Regions from separate parts of the Homo sapiens genome. Here region 1 is linked to region 2. Evidence: promoter capture Hi-C in 16 types of primary human blood cells and fetal thymus (Javierre and others, 2016). All regions are on one chromosome and are shown on one strand. Each heading gives the region's core, a stretch centred on a gene start or on the middle of the fragment in contact. The rest is flanking DNA. Distances are from core to core; before and after follow the strand shown.

Region 1 (2,949 bases), core at 1-2,500, 790 kb after region 2:
GGGAGGCGGAGGTTGCAGTGAGCTGAGATGGTGCCATTGCACTCCAGCCTGGGCAACAAGAGTGAGGCTCTGTCTAAAAACAAAACAAAACAAAAATATACCTGGGTATGCTTGAACACAAACACTGCCATACCGTTAAAAATGTTATATATTAATATATAAATAAATATTTACATATATGTATATTAGATATATATGTAAAGATTTCTACTCATAGTACGGTTCTTTTAATTTTTTGTTCTGTTTGGACATTTTCTTTCTTTTTTTTTTTTTTTTTTTTTAAGAGGGAGTATCACTTTGTCGCCCAGGCTGGAGTGCAGTGGCGCGATCTTGGCTCACTGCAACCTCCGCCTCCCGGGTTCAAGCGATTCTCCTGTTTCAGCCTCCCGAGTGGCTGGGATTACAGGCACCCGCCACCAGGTCTGGCTTTTTTTTTTTTTTTTTTTTTTTTTTTTTTTTTTTTTTTTTTTTGAGACGAAGTCTCGCTTTGTTGCCCAGGCTGGAGTGCAGTGGTACGCTCTCTGCTCACTGCAATCTCCGCCTCCCAGGTTCAAGCGATTCTTCTGCCTCAGCCACCCAAGTAGCTGGGATTATAGCGCCCGCCGCTATGCCCGGCTAATCTGTATATTTTCAAGCTAAAAGCTGGGGTATAAAAAAATAAGGGCAAGTTTACTTCCATCCAACTGTGAAGGTTCACGGGGGCACCGTGAGAAGGTTGCCCCCTGCGAAGGTTGCTTTTCCACGGTTCTCGATGCGTTCCCCAAATTTCTCTTCCACCTCCCAGTCGATATCGGAGGCCACATCAGGTGTCACCGAGTCCCGGGCAGCTCCCTCAGGCAGCGGCAGGGGAAGATCCTGAGGGGCACTTGGGACGGGCCCCGCCCCTCCGTGTCCCCATCTGGGGCTGTCAGGGGTGTGGCTAGTGCTGGCAGAAACCAATGGGAGCTGAGGAGGTCGCGTGTTTGCGCGGACGGGGCGGGGCGGCGCGGGGCTGCGTGCAGGCTCGTGGGTCTGCCCCGCCCGCGACGGCATTTTTTCCTTTTCTCCAGCGGCCTCAGGTTCTTGTTACAACTGAGTCCGGGTTGGAGGAGGTGTGGGGCCGCTGCCGCCAGGTAAGTCCTGGCCCGTGCCTCCTCCTGCCGGCCCCGCTTTCTCTGCGGCTCCTGGAACCCGGGCCTGGGGTAAGGTTGGGCTGCGATTTCCGAGGAGCCTCCTTTGCAACCGGGCGTGCTCGGGGCTGCCTGTGCTCTCCACTTCGCAGGCCGGGCCGGGCTCGGCGGGGCGCGAGGTTCCGGGGACTGGGGACAGGGCTCTGCTTCTCGGGCTGCTGCCTCCTTGGGTCGGGCCGGTGCCGCGGGGCCCCCATCGCTGTTGGCGTGGGGTGATTCCTGTTCCAGGGTCATTCAGATCCGAGTGCGAAGCCCGTCCTGGCATCTCCGCGTCTGCTAACGAGCCCCGGGCTTGCAACCCTGCTTGTGCGTCCCTCCCACTCGTGCGTTCATTCAAACGGCAGCCTGAGCGCCCGCGAGCTTCGCACTGTGGGAGAGGGCACACCACATTCGGAATCGCTCGTGGCACACAGGCTGGGAGGAACTTGCCTGGAAAGTTAATGTACCTCTGGGTTTTGAAGTCTTTCTAGGTGCACTTTCATGTAAAGCAGTTGCAGTGATTAGCATTTTTGTTCTGCGCAAGAGTAGCAAACAATGTTGGCACTGCCCTGCGGATTCGGCTTGCGGTGCTACTTGGGTAGTGAGAAAGTTGAAAGGCATGAATCTTGCTTTTGGCTTTGCCGTTGCGAAGCTTTGTGACCGCGGGCTCAGTTAATTAACGTGAAACGAGATGATAATTTCGAAGATTTCTTTTAAACCCGGCTTTTTGTAAGTCTGTGATGAGCTTAGTTTTCCTTCTGCACCTTTAAAAAGAATAGGAAATAGGAAAAGTTCATGAAAGGGCATTATTGAAAGGGCAGTCGGTCCAGCAAGGAACAATAAATGTATGAGAGCACATTAAAGGCTGTGCAATTACAGTTTTAAGACTTAAGACTAAAAAGGGAACAGGAAGTAAAACTGAAAGAACTTACCAAGAATTAAATAAGAGAAACGGCTGGGAGCGGTGGCTCAGGCCTGTAATCCCAGCACTTTGGGAGGCCGAGGCGGGCGGATCACCTGAGGTCAGGAGTTCGAGACCAGCCTGGCCAACATGGAGAAACTCCGTCTCTACTAAAAATACAAAATTAGCCGGGCGTGGTGACGGATGTCTAATTCTAGCTACTCGGGAGGTTGAGACAGGAGAATCGCTTGAATCCAGGAGACGGAGGTTGCAGTGAGCCGAGATCATGCTATTGTACTCCAGCCTGGGCAATAAGAACAAAACTCCGCCTCTAAATAAATAAATAAGAGAAACTTGGAAAGCGTTCAAAAGTACGAACAGCTAGTATTATATTTAATTACCTCCCTTTACAGCTGTACACATGAGGTCAGGTGGGTGAAAATAAATACTAAGCAACCATGTAAGAGAAAATGTAGACAGGATGTGTAACTTAGCATATATCCTAAGTGTAGGGAGAATCCTTTGAAATTCTTAATTTGTATAGACAATTTCATTCAGAAAACTTGTTTTTAACCTTTATTTATTATTTGGGACAGGGTCTTGCTCTGTCACCCAGGCTGCTAGAGTGCAGTGTCATGGTCTTAGCTCACTGCAGCCTTGAAGTCCTGGGCTTATGTGCCCCTTCCACCTCAGCCTGCGGAGTAGCTGGGACTAGAGTCGCGTACCACCATACCTAGATAATGTTTTGGATTTTTTTAGTATAGGTGGTCGTCTCATTCTGTTGCCCAGGCTGGTCTTGAACCCCTGGCCTCAAGCTATTCTCCAGCCTCAGCCTCCCAAGTAGCTGGGATTACAGGTATGTGTGACTAGCCCAGCTAACATTTTTGTTGTTGTTTTTTT
Region 2 (3,275 bases), core at 424-2,923:
TCAGGAACACTAGACAGTACTTCAACACTATGCTTGGGGCCCACAGTGAAATCACTAACTAAAAGCACAAACATTCAAGAAACATAGAGCTAAACAGACAGGGAAAACAGTACCCGTTTACAATATGAGAGCTGAAACAAGAAGGTAGAGGTAGCCTTGTTCCACCTCAGCTGGAGGCATGTGTGTTGGGTGACTCATTTTCAGTGCTCTGCACATATCCACGCATGACTGAGAAAGCCCTTTGAGTACCAATTCTGGGGTTACAAGTAAATTTTATCGATGAGATAAACTTGAATCTACTAAGTCCACCAATAAGTATCAGTAAATGCATCTGTGGAATTGAATTGGATGTTATCACCTGACAACAAACATTTGTAAGTTATTAGTGAGTGTATTTATTGTGATTCTGAGCTGTGCAAGTCAAGGAATTTCTATGAAAGATACATAAATGTTAATACACATATCTGATTAATACACATACCTGTATGGGTTTTTTTCTCATGTAAAGACAGCTTAGTGAATTTTGGAGGTAAGGGTCTTCGAAGAAGCAGTGGGGGCTTTTGCATTTTAATGAATAATAAGTGCTGTTTTTCATAATCCTTGGTTTAAATGAGAATTGAAAAGGTTTTGAATATGTTTGAATTGTTGAAAAATAATAAGAATTTAGATTACATCTTAAAGAAAATCATTCTGTACCAATACTCTACTGAATCCAGGCAGAATTCCTTTATGAAAAAAAAAGAGGGTAAGAAAATAATTCTTTAAAACTTCTATTAATAGAAAGAATCCAGTTAAAATGTAGGGTTATAAGTAAACATAGAATTTTAAAAATATGTGTATTATTACTACCCAGGATCATTCTACAATTTTCCATGTTAGTACAAAGTTCAATTTGCCAATGCTATTTCAACTAGTAAATACTGATTTTTCAGAATAGTCGAAATGACATTTTTTTTCTCTCTCTCCAAAATGTTATCGCTATAAATGTAGAAAGAGAATTTGGTCAGAAATGTGTAGAAGATGCCTTCATTAGATAAGCCTCTGAAGACCCACCATATCTAACCATTCACAAACAAATTGTTTTCTTTCTATAATGGCTTGTTTTTCAACCACTATGCTTGGGCCAAAACAATTCAATCCTAAAATAAGATGGGTTTCACTATAATGAGATTTCCCAGGGCTGCTGGATCCCAACTCATACTGTTTAGAAATAATGCGAGAAGATGCACCCCCAAAATGTGCTTTTAGTTTGCAGGGCAACATCAAAAGTGCCTGGCACGGCATTATTCCATTGATAGCCTAGAAGGGAACACCCTGAAACTGCACAAATGGGCCGTTTACCGCCAAAAGATAACTGCACACAAGCGCTCAAGGTGTACTCCCTGGTCATATGTTCCACACGATGCTGGAAATCTCCCTTCCGTAGTACCCAAAGAGGGGCATGGAAGTGCTGGACTCCCACACTACCCTTTAGGATAATCGGCCGCTTTCCAAACCAACTGGCTTTTCGTCTCCTATCTCCTTTTCCTCGGAATCTAGGCAGCGAGGTAAAGGTCCAGCGAGGGTCTTCCTGCAGGAGGCTGTTCCCGAAGAAGCACCACGGATCCCCACCCTCTAGGAGGCCAAGGAGACACACCCTAGCAACCGGGGTCCGCTAAGCCAGCCCAGCCACTTGACGCGCAGGCGCGGGGGCGGGACAGGCGAGGCGGGCGCGGGACAGGCGAGGCGAGGCGGGCGCCGGGAGGGGCAGGCCCAGCCCACGGTGCAGCGCGCGCGGAGCCCTCGCCTTCCTCCGACGCACTGTGGGGCTGCAGGGGAAGCTGCGGGCCGTGGGGGCCGGAGGAGAAGCCGGCTCCACGCGCAGCTGCTGTACGGAACGCCGTGGTGACAATTGTTATTACTATTTTTATGCTTAATGGCAATGACCACTATTATTTATTATTTTCTCTCGATTACAGGATGCTTTACTTGGGTGTCTAGAATATGGGCTGGCATTCTTTAAGGCTGCACTTTTGTGCAGCCGGGTCCCGGGGCTAATTTTGCAGTGCTCTCGAAAAGCGGGCATTCGGTTTTCTTTCTCTTCCTTTCATGCAACCTGTTTTCTCTTTCTGATCCTTTAAAGTTCCTGGCTGAGGCTGGATTGTGTAGAAATAAGGGCATTAGGGATCCAAGCGGGCCATAAAAGAAACCCATTTCTCACTGTCATCGTCCTCTGTTCTGGTTATCATATTGTGACGTGTCGCCTCTGTCATGGTGTTGATGAACCTGTGTGTGCAGTCATAGATACATCGTGTGTGTTTGCAAAAATGTGCGTGTTTCTCTGGAGATTTGAGGGGGAAAGAGCACTAGAAAGAGCTCATCTGATAGATGCGGAAATCCGAACTCAGAAAGTAAACTAGGTAGAGCTTCCTTCCAGGTTTGGTTTTTTCTAAGTACTAGCGCAGGAACTTTATAACAGAAGTTGGAAAATGAGAGACTTCTGTATAAATCTTTCTAGCTTTGGGGATCTTTCAAGATTCACACCATAACCATGTCTTCCTTTTTCTCCTTAGTAGCAAACATGTTTTAAAACAATCAATGAAAAAAGTAGAAAAGTTTTAACAAAAAAGTAATCAGACTCTGGAAAATATTATGCAACTTGTTTTCCTTTACAGTAGTAGTGTACTGTTTCTTTTCCTTGTAAGTTTACTGTGTCCCAATTATACTGCTGCCCCAGACTATGAATTTATTTCCACTTTTGCTGTTATCTACACCATAGATTCATTAGTTTCTCAGAAATACAAAGCTGAAAATAAAAGGCAGCTCTGTGGCTAAGATTAGTCTCAAGTAATATATATCGTGCATATTTTGTAAATGTGAAAAAAGGTTTATATTTTTAAGCATAAAAAATGACAGTGTAAATTGAGTCAGGTACCTATGCTCTTCAAGATCGTTGGAACCATGAGAACTACAGGAATTCAGTTTTACTGACTGACGTTTGGCCTTTAAAATTTATGCTTAGCTTTGTGTAGTCGAAAGCAAGGCTTCTGAATGCTTTTTCAAAAAATGCTTTGTCACACTTGGAATCCGCAGGCATCCAGGTATCATTCCTTGCAGATTTCTTCTAGCAAGTATGAGACTAAAACCTAGGGCGGTTTAATATGTAATCTCAGGTGTGAACATTTTGTCTTCTATTTCTACCACTTAGTACCAAACATTTAGGCAAATGAGATAGTTATTATGAAAATTAAATCCATGGCTTGGTATATTTTATATGTATATATGTTATTCTAACA

What was found. The method cuts DNA at HindIII sites, captures the fragments that hold promoters and counts their contacts. A CHiCAGO score of 5 or more calls a contact.
Region 1: a contact is called between the fragment with the promoter of SLC25A30-AS1 here and the fragment with the promoter of LRRC63 in region 2, in 1 of 17 cell types (monocytes). The highest score is 5.3, in monocytes.

What each region holds. Positions count from the first base shown.
Region 1 is chr13:45,416,463-45,419,411 of GRCh38, reverse strand. SLC25A30-AS1 (SLC25A30 antisense RNA 1) reads right to left here and starts at 1,250. Exons shown (of 2, transcript NR_047031.1): 1 at 674-1,250. SLC25A30 (solute carrier family 25 member 30) reads left to right here and starts at 1,039. Exons shown (of 10, transcript NM_001010875.4): 1 at 1,039-1,112. RefSeq lists enhancers at 635-824, 1,635-1,684 and silencers at 935-1,034, 1,075-1,404. The HindIII fragment of the contact is 21,864 bases long and covers 1-1,802 here.
Region 2 is chr13:46,210,326-46,213,600 of GRCh38, reverse strand. LRRC63 (leucine rich repeat containing 63) reads right to left here and starts at 1,673. Exons shown (of 10, transcript NM_001282460.2): 1 at 1,342-1,673; 2 at 482-599. The coding sequence starts at 566. LOC107984578 (a long non-coding RNA gene) reads left to right here and starts at 1,749. Exons shown (of 4, transcript XR_001749863.3): 1 at 1,749-3,275. RefSeq lists a silencer at 1,588-1,917. The HindIII fragment of the contact is 5,320 bases long and covers 1-3,275 here.